Regions from separate parts of the Homo sapiens genome. Here region 2 is linked to region 1. Evidence: promoter capture Hi-C in human tissues and cell types (Jung and others, 2019). All regions are on one chromosome and are shown on one strand. The core of a region is centred on a gene start or on the middle of the fragment in contact, and the rest is flanking DNA. Distances in the headings are between cores, read along the strand shown.

Region 1 (4,393 bases), core at 1,355-3,854:
TAAGAATCAAATACATGGCCGTGTGCCAATCCTCAAGCGGGGTGGGGGGGAGGGGGGAATGGCTTGAGTCCAAGAGTTCAAGACCAACCTGGCCAACACAAAAAGTCCCCGTCTCTAAAAAAATAAATTAAAAAAAAAAATCAAAGATATATTGAGAAGTGATTTGGCACGATCACATGCACACTGGTTTTTATTGTATTACAATATTTGTTCACACTACTAGTGAAGTCAGAAGAATGTACAACCATTAGGAGGTAGTAGAGCTCTGGTGGAGAGCAAGACGTGGCTTAATTATTGCCGCTCTTTGTCCCTGTGGCTTAGTTATTGTAGTTCTGTGTCCCCAAGGACTATCAGGCCCTAAGAGACTTGAAGTAACCAAAATACACATGCCTGAGGCAGACACCAGAATGCTAACATATTAACATATAGTGAAAGGCATCACTGACACACACATCAGAAATACATGATCTTGGCATCATGAGTCCACAGAATTCCTCCTTGTCGTCATGCAGACGGGGAGGCCATAAAGCATATTCTCTCCAGAAAAGCACACTTTCCCTGGCTAAGGTTGCTTGGTGGGCAAGAAACTTTTTTAAAAAGAAGTGTCAGGCCAGGCGTGGTGGCTCACACCTGTAATCCCCGCACTTTGGGAGGCCGAGGAGGGGGTGGATCACTTGAGGTCAGGAGTTCCAGACCAGCCTGGGCAACATGGTGAAATGCCGTCTCTACTAAAAATACAAAAATTAGCTGGGGGTCGTGGTGTACGCCTGTAATCCCAGCTACTTGGGAGTCTGCAGCAGGAGAATCGCTTGAACCTGGGAGGTGGAGTTTGCAGTGAGCCGAGATTCCGCCACTGCACTCCAGCCTGGGCGACAGAGTGAGACTCTGTGTCAAAAAAAAAAAAAAAGAAGAAGAAGAAGAAGCATGTAGTGGCATAAGAGGGTGGATGCACCCATCTCTTCAAATACTGGCTTCTTCTGTGGAACTAGAAATATCTGAAGTCTGGAGAGAACAGTCCTGAAATGGATCACAGCAAAGCCTACCTTCCTCCTCTAAGCCTCTTCTCCCACATGCCCCTCACCCCCCATATTCTGTTCTCTTTACTCTCTAGCATTGTCTAGTTGCCCAGCTGCCACTTGGTCTCCAAACGTCTTTTTTGCTTTAGATTTTTTAGAGATAGGGTCTCACACTGTTGCCCAGGCTGGAGTGCACTGGCACTATCACAATAAACAGCTCACTGTAATCTTGAACTCCTGGGATCGAACAATCCTCCTCCCTCAGGCTCCTGAGTAGGTAGAACTACAGGCATGCACCACCCCACCTGGTGAATTTTTTCTATTTTTTATAGAGACAGAGTCTTGCTATGTTGCCTAGGCTGGTCCCAAACTCCTGGCCTCAACCGATTCTCCCACCTCAGCCTCCCAAAGTGCTGGGATTACAGGTGTGAGCCACTGTGCCTGGCCCAAGCCTTGTTTTGGATAATTTGTGATACGCATCTACTTTGGTACAAAGTAGATATTTATAAGTGTTATATATTTCATACTGGGAAATGATGTTTGATGAGAACACGGACACATAAAGTATACCAAATCTGAATTAAAAGAGTACTAAATTCAAATAAACTTAAGTAACAGTGAGTCCATAGATTTTGCACGGTTATGCTAATAGCATGGGCCTACCCCATGGCACACTGAGAATCATTACAAAGCGCAGAAGGGCTCACAGTGTCCATTTACAGGGGCTAAACTGACCAGAAAGGGAGAAAAAGGAGATCGGAACCCAAAGGCAGCAGAGGAGACCCTGAAAGAATGGGCTATCGCTGAGATTCTGACTTTAGATGACTCCAGGGTTTCTCTCCTCCTGACGGCCTCGGGCCTTTCTCCTTCCAGTGTCATTCCAGCCCCATCCAGGTGTGCTCTCCTCCCGAGGCCACTGCTGGACAACTAAGGTCCGGTCCACCCTAGCACCAGCCCTGCATTCTCCACAAGACCTTTTCGGACTATTCCGAGGCCGATTCGATCCTCCGTTTCTCGGAGAGAGCTCTGAGCACTTTGGCTCTAAAATTTCAGGCAAGATCTGTCTTCCTCTAACTCCAAAGTAAATAGCTGCAGTCGCTCTCCAGGCTTAACCTTGTCCATATAGCAGCGGTCAATCTGATCGCTCCTGCGCTTCCCCCAGGACACGGATCCCACCGCTTTCTCCACCCCCCAAAACGCTCCCGGGGTCCCCAGGACACCGCTTTCTGCAACCCCGTGTAGGGCGCCCCTACTTCAGTCCAACGCGCGGCTCCGTCCCACCGCGAGCACCCCTCAGCTCCGGAGTCCCACCCCGGAGCTACCCCGGAGCTACCCCGCGCGCCCCCGCGTCGCGACGCACGTGCTCCCCGCTCCCATTCATTCCGCCCACTGCTGTCATTGGAGCCGTGACCTCTGAGCCCCGCCGGGCGCGCGCCTCCCAACCTCACCTGCGCGCGGACTTCGGCAGCGGCGCTCGGCCCCAACGGTCCCGCACGGCCGGGGGAGCCGGGCCCGGGGCTCCGCGCCGCCGGCTTCCAGGAGCAGCCGCGCCGCCACCGCCACCAGCGCGAGGCCATGGTCGGAGTCTGAAAGTCGCGGCAGGGCGGCGGCTCCGCCTCTGGCCCGCGATCCTCCTCCCGGGACCCGGAGCCGGAAACCTGGCACAGGAAGCGCTTCGGCCAGGCCCGGGAGCGCGGTTCGCTCTTCCTCGCTTGCGGTCCGGCTGCCGGCGCGGACACTTCGGGTGTCTGCCCGTCTGCAGCCAACGGGGACTGCAGCCGCTCCCGGGAGGCGACGGGGCAGGGGCGTGCGGAGACCTGGTCTGGGGACCCCGAGCGTAACCTTCCCCGGGGCGAGCCTCCTATCCCCACCTCTTCCCGGAAGCTGTGCAGGGAGACTGGCCACGCCTGCAGTCATAGCAAAAATGTCCCTGTGGGGACCTTTTATTAGCAAGAAATACTACCGCGCGCCACCCTTGCAGCCACGAACTCTTTTGTTCTGCGTGTTTAGGCAGAAACATAACTCAGAGAATGGGGTTCCCGCTCCGCAGCCTAAGCCGGAGGCGACGGTTTCCGCTGCTGCTTCCCTTGGCAGTGACCTGACACGCCCTGGTCGGCTGCCTTTTGCAATCTGTTCTTGAAGGAAGTTCCAGCCCATCGCATCTTCCTAGAAACAAGTCCGACCACGATCAGGGTTGTTGTGAAATAGTAGCTAAATTAGCCGGGTCTCGTGACTTTTGGACTCTCCCCTCCAAACGCCTTATAGGTATAGTTTGGCAATCTTGCTCACACCTGGGTGTGAACCTGCGTGTACCCAGCCCGGGAGATATTGGAGTCTGTACAGGATTAGTACCCCTTATGGGTTAGAAAGGCCTTCTTTCCTTAGCTCTAAGGCCAGATCTACTGGTGCTAAGAGACAGCGTGTTCCGAACAGAAATTAAGTGATATAAACATTCAGCGCATGCACTCAAACACACAGAGCCAGTGAGATAGGGGGTAAGCATTAGAGATAGAGAAATGCAATTTAGTCCTCAAAAAATTCACTCTAATGAGGAAATAGACCAGCAAGTAGGTAATTGCAGTTCTCTGATTCATGTATTTTCTTGTTCTTGGGTTAAAGAATGCGGTAGCCTCATAGCTGGGTACATTAATTTCATATTTAATCGTGTGGATTTTTTATGGAATGAAGACATCATAGACTATATAAAGACATCTATGAAAATAAGCCAGTTTGATGGTGTTTTTTCCATCTTGAAGAATAGTATGTAAAAATATGCAAAGCTTTATGAGTAAAGATTGTTAATATGCACCTGTAGCTTATCTTGGTTTAGATTAGGTTTATATATTAAGAAACATTCATAAGGTGGAATTTGCCAAGTAGAGTGTAGCAGTAAGCACTTGGGTTGTACTTGATCCTATGACTAAGACATTATCATTTGCCCTTTTTTGTATATAAAGATAAGGAAACATATAGAGGAAATACCGTATGGTCAAATAAGTATCACACTCAAGCTCACCCAGTTGTCAAGTATGTCACTACACAATTTTGTCAGACCATGTTCGTTTAGAGATTGCTTGGCCACATTAAAACAGAAAACATTGCTCTTAAAAAGATGCTGTAGGTCGGGGGCACAGTGGCTCAGCCTGTAATCCCAGCACTGTGGGAGGCCGAGGCAGGTGGATCACTTGAGGTCAGGAGTTTGAGACCAGCCTGGCCAACATGGTGAAACCCGTCTCTACTAAATATTCAAAAATTAGTTGGGCATGGTGGTGCATGTTCTGTAATCCCAACCACTTAGGAGGCTGAGGCAAGAGAATCACTTGAACCTGGGAGGCAGAGGTTGCAGTGAGCCGAGATTGTGCCACTGCACTTCGGCC
Region 2 (4,393 bases), core at 1,246-3,745, 150 kb before region 1:
AGAATAATCAGATAATACCATAAAGATCCCAAAGAAAACTGGCAAAATTGTATAGGCTCCCAAGTTGGAACCACAGGAGTTCCAAAAGGAATGCACAGTAAAATGAAATATATTTATAATTATATGTATTGTGCTTCTTAGTATGACAGAGTATATTAGTTTGTCACATACTCAGTTATTCTGCGACTTTTTACACGTATTATGTGTCAGACTGTTTTGTCAATCAGATACAGTTTCTACCCTCAAGTGATTTTATAGTTGGCCTCCTCCATTAATCAAATAACTCAAACTATAATAAATTACATCTAGGGAAGGTACATGTGACATGAAAGTATACATCAGGTGCTGCCACCTAGCTTGGTGTGTCATAGAAGTAATGTTGGAGTTGAGATCTGAAGGGTGAATATATGTTAACCGAGAACATTTGGGGGAAGGGAAAACAGTGTCTCTGTGGAGGGGAGAGCAGCATGTGTACAGGCTCAAAGGTAAGAGTGAAGGCAGAGTGATTTTGAACAAGTTACACACTTGTGTACTTCAGAGTAAACAGAGTCATCTGTGAAGAGGTAGGTAGGTACCAGATAAGGATTTTGATCTTTTTTTTTGTCTGAGGCTGATGAGAAGGCATTGAAAGTTTTAAGCAAGGCTGGGCGCAGTGGCTCCTGCCTGTAATCCCAGCACTTTGGGAGGCCAAGGTGGGCCCATCGCTTGAGGTCAGGAATTTGAGACCAGTCTGGCCAACATGGTGAAACCCCGTCTCTACTAAAAATACAAACATTAGCCAGACATGGTGGTGCTTGCCTGTAGTCCCAGCCACTCAGGAGGCTGAGGCAGGAGAATCACTTGAACCTGGGAGGCGGAGGTTGCAGCGAGCTGAGAGCACGCCACTGCACTCCAGCCTGGGCAACAGAGTGAGACTCTGCCTCAAGAAAAAAAAAAAAAAAGAAAAGAGAAAGAAAGTTTTCAGCAATGGGATGATATAATTTTTACTTTTTATGAAGTTTACTCTTGTTTAGAGTGGAGAACAGATTGGAAGGAGGATTGACTACAGATTGGAAGGAGTTCAGAACAGATTGGAGGGTGGCTAGTCTAGAGGTGATGGTAGCAATTGGTGATGGTTTTTCTAAAATCTTTTTTTTTTTTTTGAGACGGAGTCTCACTCTGTCGCCCAGACTGGAGTGCAGTGGTGTGATCTCAGCTCACTGCAACCTCTACCTCCCAGGTTCAAGCAAGTCTCTCTGCCTCAGCCTCAGTAGCTGGGATTACAGGTACCCACCACCGTGCCTGGCTACTTTTTGTATTTTTTTGTAGAGACGGGGTTTCACCATGTTGGCCAGGCTGGTATTGAACTCCTGACCTCAGGTGCTCTGCCTGCCTCGGCCTCCCAAAGTGCTGGGATTACAGGCATGAGCCACTGTGCTTGTCCATTTTTTCTAAAATCTTCAGTGCCTGAACTCATCATGGTAGACTGTGACTATTATTTTTCTTTTCTAAAAAGAGGAGTATTTGAGGCTATTGGGATTTGTTGAACTGAAATAGAGAAAGATTCATTCAACAAATAGTTAATTGCCTACTCTATGGAAGACTGTCTGTTAGGTATTATGATGTGGTGGTATGATGTCTATATTATTATTATTATTTTTGAGACAGAGTTTCGCTCTTGTTGTCCAGGATGGAGTGCAATGGCACGATCTTGGTTCACTGCAACCTCCACCTCCCGGGTTCAAGTGATTTTCCTGTCTCAGCCTCCCAAGTAGCTGGGATTACAGGCACATGCCACCATACCCAGCTAGTATTTGTAGCTTTAGTAGAGATGGGGTTTCATCATATTGGTCAGGCTGGTCTCGAACTCCTGACCTCAGGTGATCCGCCCGCCTCAGCCTCCCAAAGTGCTGCGATTATAGGTGTGAGCCATCATGCCCTGCTTTGTGTCTATATTATTTATAAGCTATGTAGAAATCACTGAAAAGCCTTAAATCTAAGAAAAAGAAAATTGGTCTATAGTATGTATAGTTAAATGAGGAAATGTTCTGTATGGAAGAAAAATAATTGTTATTTTTGAAAGGGTTTTGATTTTAGTTTGGGCAGTCAGAAGTTTGCTTATGGAAAGAGAATATGTCAAGCAGCTTTTTTTTTTTTTAAAGCATTTAGGTAATATGTTCCTATAAAAGGGTCAATACAGTTGTATTAAAAGTCAAACCTAAAATGTCTCTTCTTCTTCTCCCCATACTGCTATTATCCTCTCCCCTCAAACTGTATGCTTGTTTTCTGCCTTTCCAGTTTTTGTACAAAGGATGTGCTTTGGGAAGATTCATCTTACATTGGTACGGGATGGATTGGAGAAGGGAGAGACTGGATGGACAGTGACCAGTTAGAGGACTGTCACATTTGTCTCACTGTAAAGAGTATTTCATGAATTGAGATAGCTGTAGTAAGATTGAAAAGGAAGATAAGAATCAGCAAGCCTTGGTGAAGGAGATATGGGTGGCTGCGGGAAAAGGAGAACCCAAAGAAGGCTTATTTAACCGGTATCTATTTTCCCCTAGCATAAAGCTAATGCGCCTACAGAAGGTAATTTGCAGTCACAGAAGTGAATCTATAGACCCCCTCTTTTTCAGCTGTTAGTACACAGTTGGTTTCTGACACTTTCCAGCTTTTACTCCTCCACAATTGAATTGATTGGCAGAGCAGTGGGTTGGAGAATAGGAATAAAGCTTGACTGCTAGCTGGCTGCGTGGGCAGAACAGGGAAGGGAAGAGGGAAGAGGAGAGGAAAGGGATTCCAGTTTCTCTGGCTATATACTGTTGTGGCATGAGGTGCATGTCTTTTGATGTTAATTTTGATGTTCTATCATAACCTTCTGCATTACAGATTGTTGGTATTTTTATATGTGTAGTCTTTATAAATTTCAAATACATATGACGTGGGTTGAAAATGATCTCTTTTTGAAAGGAACTTTTAGAGAGAATTCTAAGGAACAGTAGTGTTTGGGGGTTCTCAGGCAAAGTTTCTCCTAAAGAATGAGTTTAGCCGAGTCATTAATTTAAAGAGTTGAGGGGAAGGGGGATTGGGAGGCAAGGGATATATATAGGTAGTAGGAACAGAAAGATAGCAAGGCATGTTTGGGAGAGCTGTGAGTAGTGTCAAGTGCCAGGGAAGGTGGAGGAGATGAAGTCTTAGTCAAAAACATACTTGAACTGCTGTCACTAAACTGTAGAAGATCGGATCAGTGTTTCCCAGATTTGAAAATAGAAACCGTGTTTTAAATTTAACACTGGTAAGATGAAATTGTGCTTTTGCTATGTCCTGACATATTCTGTTCATTTGTCTAGACACGTTTGGCATAATCAACAGAAACCACTGGATGAGTGGTTAAATATAAGATAAATGAGTTATAGGTCTGAATCAATCACTTTTGTATGAGCTAATTGTCATAACTTGGGGACTGCTTGTATGAGTGGCTTTATTGTTAGTGTTTATTAATGTCTTGTGGTATATAGAGCTATTTTTTTTTTCAACTCAATTGGGTATTTCTTCCACCCATCCTACCTCTCCTACCTTGCCCCACTACCACAAAGAAGAAGAAGAAAGGCAGCATGGTACTATCTCTATGAAAATCCTGCCACTCTCATTTTTGCTTTTTGGGTGAGGAGGTACGGTGCTGCAAGGTGGGAAGAATGTGTGATATATTAATATTTACATCACTGAGGAGAATTGCAATACATTCCTTTTATAGTCACATGGAAGTTTTAGGAAAAGCTTTGCTTCTACATATATATATATATATATATATATATATATTTTTTTTTTTTTTTTTTTTTTTTTTTTTTTTTGAGACGGAGTCTTGCTATGTCATAAAGGCTGGAGTGTGGTGGCATGATCTCAGCTCACTACAACCTCCGCCTCCAAGGTTCAAGCGATTCTCCTGCCTCAGCCTCCCAAGTATCTGGGACTACAGGTGCATGCCACCACACCCCGGCTAATTTTGTATTTTTTAGTGGAGACAGGGTTTCACTGTGTTGGCCAGGCTGGTCTTGAACTCCTGACCTCAGGTGATCTGCCCACCTCATCCTTCCAGAGTGCTGGGATTACAGGTGTAAGCCACCATGCTGGACCCCACCAAGATATTTTGACCTATGGATACTATAAATCATATAATCTTTTTTCCTTTATCTTTGTGGATTCATGCAAAAGCCAGAGCCAAACTTGTGGCTCTAATTTATTATTTATTTATTTACTTTTTAAGATGGAGTCTTGCTCTGTCGCCCAGGCTGGAGTGCAGTGGCTAGATCTTGGTTCACTGCAGCCTCCTCCTCCCGGGTTCAAGCAGTTCTCCTGCCTCAGCTTCCCGAGTAGCTGGGACTATAGGTGCACACCACCATGCCCGGCTAATTTT

The links. Contacts are between HindIII fragments. The study calls those that stand out against the background at their distance.
Region 2: a contact is called between a fragment that was not itself captured here and the fragment with the promoter of PDSS1 in region 1, in 1 of the 25 tissues and cell types used here (hippocampus).

The regions. Positions count from the first base shown.
Region 1 is chr10:26,695,912-26,700,304 of GRCh38, reverse strand. PDSS1 (decaprenyl diphosphate synthase subunit 1) reads right to left here and starts at 2,604. Exons shown (of 12, transcript NM_014317.5): 1 at 2,465-2,604. The coding sequence starts at 2,593. RefSeq lists an enhancer at 1,549-2,437 and a silencer at 2,312-2,931. The HindIII fragment of the contact is 21,055 bases long and covers 1-4,393 here.
Region 2 is chr10:26,842,891-26,847,283 of GRCh38, reverse strand. All of the region lies in intron 1 of ABI1 (abl interactor 1), which reads left to right. Among named protein-coding and RNA genes, the nearest start is that of ABI1, 16 kb to the left of the region's middle. The HindIII fragment of the contact is 4,695 bases long and covers 148-4,393 here.